Linked DNA regions of Homo sapiens: regions 2 and 3 are each linked to region 1. The links are contacts of gene promoters, found by promoter capture Hi-C in blood cells and fetal thymus (Javierre and others, 2016). All regions are on one chromosome and are shown on one strand. Each heading gives the region's core, a stretch centred on a gene start or on the middle of the fragment in contact. The rest is flanking DNA. Distances are from core to core; before and after follow the strand shown.

Region 1 (4,112 bases), core at 815-3,314:
CATTATTTGTGGATTCCATATTTGCAAATTTGCCTACTTGCTAAAATTGATCTGTAACCTCCATGTATTCTTGGACATGTACAGAGCAGGGAAAATTTTTAATTGCCCAAAGTGCACATTCCCAGCTGAGGCTAAACAAGGCATTCTCTGCCTTTTTGTTTCAGCTCTCATGCTATACCATAGTGTCCCCTTGTTGCCAGGGCTGGAGTACAGTGACACTATCTTGGTTCACTGCAGCCTCGCCCTCTCGGGCTAAAGTAATCCTTTCACCTCAAATTCTGGAGTAGCTGGGACTACAGACGAGAGCCACCATGCCCGGCTAATTTTTGTATTTTTTGTAGGGACGGGGTTTCGCCATGTTGTCCAGTGTGGTCTTGAACTCCCTGGCTGAAGCGATCCAGCCGCCTTGGCCTCCCATATTGCTGGGATTACAGGCGTGAGCCATCAGGACCAAGTGTCCTTTTCACATTCCATTTAGTGATATGTTTTTCACGTTTTTGTACTTTTTGTTGATGTTGCTGTTTAAAATGGTCCCCAAGCGTTGTGCTGTATAGTGCTCCTAAGCACAAGAAGGCTGTCATGAGCCTTGCAGAGAAAATAGCAGTGTTAGATAAGCTTTGTTGAGGTATGAATTATAGTGCTGTTGACTGAGTTCAATGTTAATGAATCAACAATATATATTAAATAAGATGTCTTTAAGCGGAAACACACATACAACAAAACTATGTATTGATTAAGTTGATGAAAATGCGACCAGAGGCTTACAGGATCCTAATCCTGTATTTCCCTTAGGAGTAATGATTCAGTATTTACTAATTCAGTGTTTCCAGCAACTTTACAGAACCTAACTACTGCAAATAACAAGAATCAATTACATACTGAGGGAAAGGTTTTTTTCAAATACACTTTACTTCCTTTTATGCACCAGGGATAAGAAAAGCCTTCCCAAGAAATTACCACTGTTTCAAAGAGCCTATAAAAGCAGTGCTCCTGCCTTCTAGTATCCTTTTCCCCTCTACTCTCCACACTTTATTCTTTCTCGGTTTCTCTCTTCCTGTTTCTTGCAGGGTCTCCACTTAAATAATGTCTTTCAACAATCTACAGTCCTATAATACATTTAATAAAGGTGGACACACAAGACATACAAGTACTTTTTTTTTTTTTTTTTTTTTTTTTGAGACGGAGTCTCGCTCTGTCGCCCAGGCTGGAGTGCAGTGGCTCGATCTCTGCTCACTGCAAGCTCTGCCTCCCAGGTTCACGCCATTCTCCTGCCTCAGGCTCCCGAGTAGCTGGGACCACAGGCGCCCGCCACCACGCCCGGCTAATTCTTTGTATGTTTAGTAGAGACGGGGTTTCACCGTGTTAGCCAGGATGGTCTCGATCTCCTGACCTCGTGATCCGCCCGCCTTGGCCTCCCAGAGTGCTGGGATTACAGGCGTGAGCCACCGCGCCCGGCCCATACACGTACATTTTAAAGTGAGAGCTATGGCTGTGCTTCCGCAACATTAATTGCAAAATTCTGTGGTACCTCAGTTCCATGGGCACCCAGAGGATGCGTTGTTCAGCCTCAGCTGGGAATCTGCACTTTGGGCAATTAAAAATTTTCACTGCTCTGTTTATTTCTGCCGGGCGCGGTAGCTCACTCCTGTAATCCCAGCACTTTGGGAGGCCGAGGCGGGCGAATCACTTGAGGTCAGGAGTTCGAAACCAGCCTGGCCAACATGGTGCAACCCTGTCTCTACTAAAAATTCAAAAATTAGCCGGGTGTGGTGGCTCATGCCTGTAATCCCAGCTACTTGGCAGGCTGAGGCAGGAGAATCGCTTGAACCCGGGAGGTGGAGGTTGCAGTGAGCCGAGATCGTGCCATTGCACTACAGCCTGGGCGACAAGAGCGAAACTCCATCTCAAAAAAAAAAAAAGAAAGAAAGAAAGAAAAAGAAAAAAAAGAAAGTTTATTTCTGTTTCTTTAAGACGAAGTTCGGGTGTTTTGCCCTCTTCAGAAATGGTTGCACGCGCGTCCCACGCTCTGCGCATGCTCCTTGAGCAGAATTCCGGGTTAAGGCATTCAGGGACTCTGACTGCGCAAGATGGAGTGTAGGCCGGCCGGCGAGACTGCACCTCCCAGCATGCCTTGCAGCCAGGACTGGAGTCGGTACTTAAGAGTGATGGGGTTCCCTAGATACTTTAGGCCGTCGCATCGATTATAGAGATTGAGGTGGAACCCGGGGCCTGGGAACTGGACGCACGCGGAGGGCGAAGATGGAAGCCTGGCGCTGTGTGAGGAAGGGCTACGGCCACTGTGTGGTGGGAAGAGGCCGGTCAGTAGGGCTGGGTACTCGGAGGGAGGAGAGAGGGGCGGGCGGCCTGAAAGAGCGGGCGGGCGTCCGGGACTAACCCGGGGCGGGGCGGGGCGGGCTAGGGGTGGAAGGAAGAGGAAGAGGGTCTGGGCGATGGTGCATCCGGGACGAGCCTCCAGAGACCAAGCGGGATAGGTAAACCCGCCGCGCAGCTGGCGGGACGCTGGGCCAACGAGGTCTGGGGTCTTGGCGCGGAGTTCATGGGCCGCCGGCCAGGCTTGTGCCAGTGGCTTTGGATCCCTGGCCTGCTTCCCCCAACCCAGCCTCCAGACCAGCGCTGGCCTGCTCCACACACTCCGCAGCACCGTCCCGGGAACCGAGCGTCGGCGGGGAGGCCGCCTCTCCGCAGTAGGTCTCGGCGGGCCTGATCCCTTGGAGGCGCGTGTGTGGCACACGCCCAGGAGGGGCTTGATTTTTGTTGATGTGTTAGTGTCTTTCAAACTTTAGTCACTTGTATGTCATCCCTTACTGTTATGGCCAAGTTCTTGTTTCACGTGTATTATTTACTGGATATTTTTCTTTAAATTGACTCAGTTTTTTTTAAAAAGCACTTCAGTAGGTGCTGCCCACATTAGCTTCACCCTAAGCAGTGTCTGCAGAGTCTTGGATTTGATGTGCGATTATGTTTTTTCCTAATAAACTAACATAAGTATTTAGAAATTACAATCAAGTAATTTAACTGTGTACTCTGTGAAACCGACTCGTGTACCACCCACCACGCTTGGGAAACACAGCATGTATTATTACATAAGCGATGGGGATTTGGTTGTAACTCCCATAGGCCTGGGACTTGATGGTAATTCAGTTCAACAATGTTTCCTGAGTACCAGCTGTTTGCCAGGCACTGTGCTAGGCACTTGTGAAGATAACGGAATTAAAATGAATAAGACGGTTCTGTTCTGGCCCTGAAGGAGCTTAACATCTTAAGAGAAAAAAAAGTCTGAATAAATAACTGCAAATATAGATAATAGCTTTTGTAGTACAAGTATTATATTTCAATACAGTGGCTTATTAGCATAGAAAATGCATGGACCAAGTGCCCAAATTCCTATGGCTTTCAGAGTTATCACAAAGCAGTGTAGAATGCCCATGTTATGCCTTTAAAGATTTACAATTAAGTAGATTTTAGAGAACAACTAGCGAATACTTAAACTGTAAAAATTATAATAAAAATTTAAATGCTGTTAAAACGAGAATAACAGCGTATAAAGTTAAATAACAGTAAACGCAACTTAAACAAAATTCCCTTAGGGATGGGAGCGCACATTATTGATGCTGTGGTAGAAATGTAGCTGTTAAGAATTTTGGAGGAAAGGATAAAAGTCCTTCTCTGAATCTTAACATTTTGCCAAAGTAGTATAGTGAGAGGAACATGGTGCTTTATTAAGCTGAAGTGTTTCTTGAGAGCCTGAGAGCAACATACCTATTAAAAATGTTAGCGCCACTTTGGAGATGTTTTGGATGATGGGTTAAATTGAAGCTGTTGGTTTGGAGTGTTGGTGCATTCGTAGTACGTCATCCCCATCCTCTTTCATTTCCCCCAACGAGAATCATGCTTAAAAAAGAATGGAGAAATAAATTATCCACCCGTTGATTAGTAAGAGAAGTAGTTTTGTGAATTTATGAAGTTGTGGATAGGCTTTTGTTTTCCTAACTATACAAGTGTTTGGAAAAATCTGCCCTTGGTATAAAAAACTGTTCAGAAACTTGTTATTACTCCAAGTTGGAGGAGAGGTTTACTTTAATTGTAGTGTG
Region 2 (3,827 bases), core at 986-3,485, 560 kb after region 1:
CAAGCTGAGGACTAACCCACCGCTCATAACACGGTTTCTACGGGAAAACCAAGTTGTGAATTTTGAATTATCAGCCCACTGAGGGTGGAAGTCCAAGATCTGTGGTGATTTGGGTGCTGATGCAAGCCAGAAGTCACAGCCCAGAGCCTGCAGCGGCTGCACTGCTGGGTCCCCAGTCCTCGATGGGCACCAGCCAACCTGCCCTCTCGACCCTCCACAGCAACTCAGGCCCCCACTCCATGGCTCCCCTGCACCATCCTCATGCCTGGTCAACTCTTGCTGCCAGTTGCTGTGAGACCCAGCTCACCACTGGGCAAACAGAGCTTGCAAAATGCAGCCCATGCTCACCATTCATGGATTCCATATGTACAAATTCACCTACCTGCGAAATTGTATCTGTAACCCCAAAATCAATACTGGCTGCACTTTTGGGGTCATTCTCGGACACACACAGAGTGGGGAAGAATGAGGGCTGCTCAACACGCACATTCCCAGCGGGGGTGGAACAAGGCCCGCTCAGCCTGCTGGCTTCAGCTCCCACAATGCAAACAAGTGTCCTTTTCGCAGGCTATTTGGTGCCACATTTTTCATGCTTTTGTGCTTTGTGTTGGTGATTTCACTGTTTAAAATGTCCCCTAAGCATATTCGAAGCAACCTGGATGAGACTGGAGACTATTATTCTAAGTGAAGTAACTCAGGAATGGAAAACCAAACATTGTCTGTTCTCACTCATAAGTGAGAGCTAAGCTATGAGGATGCAAAGGCATAAGAATGACACAATGGACTTTGGGGACTCAGGGAGAAAGAGTGGGAAGGGGGTGAGGGATAAAAGACTACAAACTGGGTTCAGTGTATGCTTCCCAGGTGATGAGTGCACCAAAATCTCACAAATCACCACTAAAGAACTGACTCATGTAACCAAATGCCACCTGTTCCCCAATAACCTATGAAAATAAAAAAAAAAATTAATGTCCCCCAAGCAGAGTGTTGGTGTTTGTTCCTAAGCACAAGAAGGCCGTGATGTCCCATACAGAGAAAACACGTGTATCAGACAAGCTTCTTTCAGACACAAGTTATGGTGCTGTTGACCATGAGTTCAGTGTCAATGAGTCAACCGTAGAGAGTAAAGAAGGTGTCTTTAATAGAAATACACATAAAACAAGGCTATGTACTGGTTGTAACCAGAGGCAGGCAGAAATCTAACCCTGTGTTTCCCCTAGGCGCAAAGGTTCAGTATCTGCTCATTCAGTGTTCACAGAGACTTTATAAAACATAACTACCATGAAGAATGAGAATTGACTCTACAGACACCTGTGCACCTGAGCCCACCTGGATTAGTGAGTCAGAATTCCCTGGGCTTAGGCCCTGGCACCTGAGTTTTTCAAAGTTTCACAGGCAATTCTGATGCTGGGCCTACATGGGAACCACCAAAGTCCAACCTCAGAACAGCCTGCGGGTCCCTGGACAGAGCCAGGTGACAACCTCAAAGCATAACTTTTAGCCACAACCGTGAGGTGGTGTGTAACACAGCGTTGTGTGGTGAGCATAGGGCTGACTCAGTGTTAGGGATCTGGAGACTCTGAGTGACCTCAGGCAAGTCATCTGACATTCAGAGCCTCAGTTTCCCCACCCACAACATGAGGATAACAACACCTGTGCACAGTGGGGTGTTTGCATAGGGGAGACTCAGACATGTCTTATGGGCTGGGACCCCAGGAGTACACTGGTGTGAGAGACTAAGGATGAGAAATAACTCATCCCAAGAGAAAGACTAGAGGTCTTGGTCTGAGAGTGATGAGCACCCCGCTGGGGAGGTCCAGGAGGAGGGACAGCTTGGAGGACCGCTTGGTGCTGGTCACTCAGGTCAGCCTCTAGCCTAGTCCTTGAAGGCTTGAGCCTAAGGAGACTACAGGGAAGGCTGCTCGCCCAAGAATCTTGGTGAGACCCAGGGAGCACACGGCCATGCAGCGTCAGAACTGACATGTGGCCCAGGGCAGATGCACGTGTCTCCCCTCCAAGGAGGGCGCCATGCACCACGGCAGTCCGGGACACTCTGTGGGGGAGGAAATCTTCACAGGCAGCATCCCTCCCTCTACCTGTGATGTAGCACCTTCTCGAGCTTTGGAGGCACTGAGGGCAGCTCCTGCAGATATCACCCCAGATCGCTGGAGTTGGGCAGGTGAGGAGTGAGCTCAGGTAGGATGCTTGCTGGGTCAAGCCCAAAAGGGAGGCCCAGAGGCCCTGCTCAGAGGCTGGGACAAGTGCAAAGCCTGAGAAAGACTGTAGTTCCTGTTTATGTGACCGGTTTCTACCCTAGACATGTATGGCTGGGGAGTGGGGGTCAGAATCAGCCACCTGTCAGCCCTGAGTGGCTGATTTCCACCTGATACTTTTAATAGCTGTGCTGATCACTATCGAAGAGTTTTAAAATGGTGCAGAGAGAGCCAAACACAGGAGCATTTTTTATCAGTCCTTTCAGACACAGCCCTGGCAGAAAAGGCAGAATTGACAGCAGGCTCTGAACTCCCACTGGTGGGCCTGGGTCCCACTGCCTCCCTCTACAAACCAGAACCAGGTGAGACCTATGGGTCTGCACAGCACTGACAAATTCCCCCAGTGAGCTAGTCCTGGCAGAAGAGGTGTGCCCGGGGCATCACGGTTCTCTCAGAAGCCTGATCTGTGCTGTATGCCAGCCATTGTTTACCCTCCCGGCCTGCCTTTCTGTCAACACTTATATTTTGCACAATGTTTCTTTGTTTGCTTTGGGTTGAGAAACTGTATTTTTTTCTTATTCACAATAGCCAAGATAGGGAAACAACCCAAATGTCCATCAACAGATGAATAGATAAAGAAAATGTGACAAATACATACAATGGAATATTATTCAGCCTTAAAAAAGAAGGAAATCCTGCCAATTGCAACAGCATGAGGAACCAAGAGGGTTTTATACTAAGTGAAAAAAGCCAGACACGGAACGACAAATACTGCATGATTCCACTTAAATGGGTATCTAAAATAGTCAGACTCATAGAAGCAGAGAATAGAAGGGCAGTTTCCAGGGGCTGGGGGAAGGGGAAATGGAGAAATGTTGCTCAATGGGTATAAAGTTTAGTTATGCGAGATGAGTAAGTTCTGGAGATGTGCTGTACAACATGGTGCCTGTAGATAACGATACAGAATTGCACCCTTTAAAATATGTTGAGAGGATAGATCTCATGTTTAGTGTTCCTACTACCAAAAAAACAAACCAAAACACAAAAGAACACAAGGAAATTTTTGGAGGCGATAGAGATGTTTAGTACCTAAATTTTGGTGATGGTATCACAGGTGTATGCATATGTCCAAACTCATCAAGATGTACTCTTTATATGTATGTGATTTTTTTGTGTATCTATTATACCTCAGTAAAGCTTTATAAATGATCAAAACAAAACTGTGTTCCCCCCACACACACCACCCCAATACAAACACAGAAGAGCTAGGCAAAAGGAAACTCTATAATGGCAGGGAACTGCTCTGATCCTGCCTGGTGGGCCACCTGCTTTGTGGAAGTTTTCACATCTAGTGTTCATTATTCTTTCTTCTGAGACTGTCTTCCTAGCCCCTCCCCTCCTCCCCCTCAGCCACACCCCCATCAGCCAGAGCTGCTCAGTCAGTCCTCGAGGAGGGCCATACATGTGTTCAGGGCTCCCAGCACTTCCTGCCACATAGCAGGTCCTCTGTGGATGTTGGGTTCCTTGTCTTTTCTTTTCTTTCTTGGGTTCACCTTGCAAAGGAGAACCAGTCAAAGACTCAGTCAAGTTACTTCAAGGAAAACAGATTTTCTC
Region 3 (4,010 bases), core at 760-3,259, 730 kb after region 1:
GCCCAAAGACAAATGAGAACCAGACTGGCCTTGAAGGGGATGCTGCAGCTTTTTCAAATGAATTGAAAAATCTGAACATCAGATGATAGGGATTTCCGTCAGGTTGCAAATTTTATCTAAATATGTAGGAGCATTATCATCTTGTTCCAACATTTCTATCTCATAAAAAGCAAGGACATTAAAATTATAAAATTAAGCATGAGTAATACACAAAGAATAAACTAGAACACCAGGAAATAACATCGAAAATCCTCTAAACCTAGTGGGAAAAGTGAGCCAAAAAGAGTGCCAAGTTCTCCTGCAAGGCATTAGGCACGGATACCAATTTGAATTCCTGTACAAACCTACAAAGTCCCTGGAATCACTGCCTGGCAAACTAAGTTCCCATTCGACTGCAAAGCAACACTACCTACTCCTTCGTATTTCCAAATAGACCATGTGTATCGGCTCAGACAACAGAATATTTTAAATCTATTCCTTGAGCTAAAGGATACCATTTAAAGCTAACGATCCTGTGAATAAGATACTACACTGGTCAAATTTTAGGCTTTTTCTTTATAAATACATCCAAAGGCCAGCTAACTCTTAACCGTTGTTTGCATTCGGATTCCTGGTCTGATGACTCTTAGGGGCAATCAATGGGAAGTGAAGTTGAGAAGAAGGTGGGTGCAGACGGCTTTATAACTGTAAAAGTAAAGGACTAGCTAAAAGTGGCCGAACAGAGGAGCTGACACTCGGGAAAGTGAAGGTCGGGGAAGGTTCGTGCGGTTGTTAAAGCAAGACCGGGAAAGGGCAAACCTGGAAGAGGAGTGAAGGACTCTACTTCACGGGACGCAAGATAGGAAGTGCAGGTTAAGCAAGCGCGCAGGTGGGGAAGGGTGTTGGCCTCCCCTAGGATGGAAAGAGTTCAGGTGGGAATTAGAAGGAAACAGCCAAGACTTCACAGAAAACCTGTTTGAATAAGGAGGAGGGCGTGAGGTGACGCCAAGGCATTGTGGGGAACTCGGCTCACACACTACCAGTCCCAACTGAGCAGGAGAAACCCAGCAGGAAATGGCTCTGCTGGCGCAGAGGCAAGCGTTGCCAGCCCCTGCGCTCGCTGCTGGGGCTGCGCCCTCGGAGGTTACCTTTGAGCTGGGGCAGCGGGTGCAGCTCTGCCTGGCTGCCCTGGCTGCGAAACTGCGACGAGCCCTGGGAGCGCTTCTGCCTCTGCGCCTTGCGGACCGATTTCCGGGTGAAGCCGTCCACTTTCTCCGAGGCCGAGATGGCGGCGCTGGCAGCCCCCGCCGGCGGCGACGACGACGACATCTCCGCGGCCCTGACGCTTGGCAGCTCCGGCTGCTGCTTGCAAGGCACGGGCAGCGGCGGAGACGGCAGGAGGAGGCGGGGGAGAGGCGCGGGGTGCTCGCGCCCCTGCGCCCCGGCCCCACGGCCCTCCGGCCCCGGGACGCCGCCGAGCTTCTCCTCGCCGCCCGCCAACGCCTCACGGCCACATCTCAGCGCTGGAGGTTCCTGGTCCCCGGCGCGCGGCGAGCTCCCGGGGCTGACGGAGGGAAGGGCGGGGGCGGAGGGGGGTGAAGAAGTTGTTGACTCTGGGCGCGCAGAGCGGGTGGAAGAGAGCCCGAAGTTTAGACAACTGAGGCGGGGGCACGGGGGTGCGGGTGCCGAGCGCGCCTCTCGTCGCTTCTGCCCCCGTCGCCAGCCAGCCGGCCGGCCAGCACCTCAGCGGCCGCTGCCAGCGCAGCCCGCCCTGCCTGGAGCCTCCTCTCAGGGCGCTGCCATCGCGGGTCCCCTCGGAGCCACTGCCGCGGTGCCCGCTCTTCCCGGTCAACGCCGGCCCCTCATCGCCCGGGGCGCTGCCCCGTAGCCCCGGCCCTCTGCGTGCACACACTCGCTCCTTGCCGCGCTGGGCGGCCCGAACCCCCTCCCCCACGCGCCCGTCGGCCGCCCACGGAGAACCCCAGGCGAGCGACCGCTACAACTTGAGAAGGTGGTTGGTACAGGCGACTGGGGAGTGTGTGCGCGTGTGCGCGCGCCAGGGCGCGCGGCCCGGGGAGGGGCCTCGCAAGGGGTGGGAAGGAGGAGTTTGACTGACAACTTCCGCGGGGTCCCGCCCGCCTCTTGGTGCGGCGGCGGGGGAGGGGGCGGGAAAGCATGCCAGCCCTCTTAGCCAATCACACGGCTAAGCGGCAGCGACGGCGTGAGGTGCGGCCTCTTGAGGCAGAGGAGTGGGGCGGGCTGTGTGACGGGCTTCGGCCACAGCCAATCGTAAGTGAAGACGGCGAGCGGGGTGCCCCTGCGTCAGAACAAATGCGGCAAATCGCTTGGGAGGGAGGGGAAGCGCTCCTCCACCAGCGGGCATTTTTGCGCTCACGCGCGACTGCTCCAGGCTGTCATTGCTCTCCTGACCGTCTACGAGAAGACTGGGAAACTTGAGAGGGTGCGTTCAGAGAGCAAAATAGAGCGCCCCTTCCCTTCCCTCACCTCTCTGCTGGCCAATGAAGAACTGAAGCGATTGGTGGGGCGCCGGAGGGCTGGGGCGCGAAAGAGCGCCAGGTGTTACACCACTGAAAGGGGGCGCAGCAGAGGTCAGGTGGCGAGCAAGCAGTGTGATTGACGGGCGAGGGGCCCGGGGAAGGCGAGAAGGTGAGCTCGTCCAATCGTTGCGAGGTCTGGACACCTGGGCGGGTCTTGGCGCCTTACTGGCCCCAAACCGCAAAATTGGTAGTTGCGGAATAAATTTGTAGCTCTTGGGAGGTTCGGACTCCGCAACTCCAGAGAGCTACTCTCGCGTGGGGTTTGGGCAGTCTAGCATCTGCTGCTTCAAAGAGTTCTGCAAGTCCACGCCCTCTAAAAAGAGATTTCTCATTCCCAATTTAGTATCCTGCTAATTTTCACCCCTCCTTGAGCCAAAGGCCCTCAACTACTCCAACGAGAAGAGTACAAATTCATTGGTCAGTGGTGTGTGGATATGGAGGCTTGCCATGTACTCTTACCGGAATCTCTTTCTTGGAGATTCCGTCTAGATTTTGAATTTCTTAAGGACGAGGACTGGTCATCTTAGTTTTTCGTGCAGTGCTTTCCATACGGTGGCCGTTAATAATTATTAATCTGAACAGTCAGCCTCCCTTTGCGCCAATGGACCCAAATCTGTAATCCCCTCCCTCGAGCTCCAGACCTTTTCCTTTCAACATAATAAAAGTAATTGTCGTATATTTAAACGAAGCCACCTGATGCATATGTACAGAAGATTCCAAATTTGGCAGGAAGTTGAATTCTAGACCTAGAACCAAACATACTATCCTCAAAACATTTCCTCCTTCAGATTTGCTGGGCGGTGAAATTGTACATAATCCTCCCAGTCAAGGAGGTTCAAACCTCAGCAGCGTTTCTGACACTTTTCGCTTTCTCACATAGTCAAGCTCCAGATCATGTTAAATCTACTTTCACAATTGGCGTTTCTCCCAATGTGTACAAAGACCGCCAAACGTAGTTCACGGCTTTCAAACTCACTGCCACATCAATCTTTTAAGATCACTTTTATCTTACCTGCGTGTTTGAGGAACCACCCAATACCTGCAGAATAGAGTCCAAATTCAAGACTCTCTGCGATCTGACTCCTGTCTTTCCAAGTGTAAATTCCTACATGTGCCCACAAAAACTCTTTTTAGTTCAGGCACATCATTCCACATACTGATCCCCTAAAAGAAGTTATGCATCCTCAACACTTAGTCTTTGCTGTTCCAACATCTTGAAATAATCCACTTTTTTTTTTCTTTTTTGAGACGGAGTCTTGCTCTGTCACCCAGGCTGGAGTGCAATGGTGGCACAATCTCGGCTCACTGCATGCTCCGCCTCCCGGGTTCAAGCGATTCTCCTGCCTCAGCCTCCCGAGTAGCTGGGATTACAGGCACCTGCCACCACGCCCGGCTAATTTTTTGTATTTTTAGTAGCGACGGGGTTTCACCATGTTGCCCAGGCTTGTCTCGAACTCCTGACCTCGTGATTCG

The links. The method cuts DNA at HindIII sites, captures the fragments that hold promoters and counts their contacts. A CHiCAGO score of 5 or more calls a contact.
Region 2: a fragment that was not itself captured here is called in contact with the fragment with the promoter of ANGEL2 in region 1 in 2 of 17 cell types (fetal thymus and naive B cells); the score reaches 6.3 in fetal thymus.
Region 3: a contact is called between the fragment with the promoter of PPP2R5A here and the fragment with the promoter of ANGEL2 in region 1, in 3 of 17 cell types (non-activated CD4 T cells, activated CD4 T cells and total CD8 T cells). The highest score is 7.5, in non-activated CD4 T cells.

Annotation. Positions count from the first base shown.
Region 1 is chr1:213,013,819-213,017,930 of GRCh38, reverse strand. ANGEL2 (angel homolog 2) reads left to right here and starts at 2,064. Exons shown (of 9, transcript NM_144567.5): 1 at 2,064-2,318. The coding sequence starts at 2,260. RefSeq lists enhancers at 2,029-2,338, 2,051-2,638, 2,639-3,227. The HindIII fragment of the contact is 5,816 bases long and covers 618-4,112 here.
Region 2 is chr1:212,458,817-212,462,643 of GRCh38, reverse strand. It overlaps LOC124904506 (a long non-coding RNA gene), which reads left to right. Exons shown (of 2, transcript XR_007066870.1): 2 at 1-979. Among named protein-coding and RNA genes, the nearest start is that of LINC02771, 12 kb to the left of the region's middle. RefSeq lists enhancers at 138-652, 1,448-1,617. The HindIII fragment of the contact is 2,354 bases long and covers 1,059-3,412 here.
Region 3 is chr1:212,283,409-212,287,418 of GRCh38, reverse strand. PPP2R5A (protein phosphatase 2 regulatory subunit B'alpha) reads right to left here and starts at 2,009. Exons shown (of 13, transcript NM_006243.4): 1 at 1,128-2,009. The coding sequence starts at 1,308. It overlaps LINC02608 (long intergenic non-protein coding RNA 2608), which reads left to right and starts at 2,398. Exons shown (of 4, transcript NR_125984.1): 1 at 2,398-2,440. RefSeq lists a silencer at 1,277-2,246 and an enhancer at 2,417-2,496. The HindIII fragment of the contact is 5,039 bases long and covers 1-4,010 here.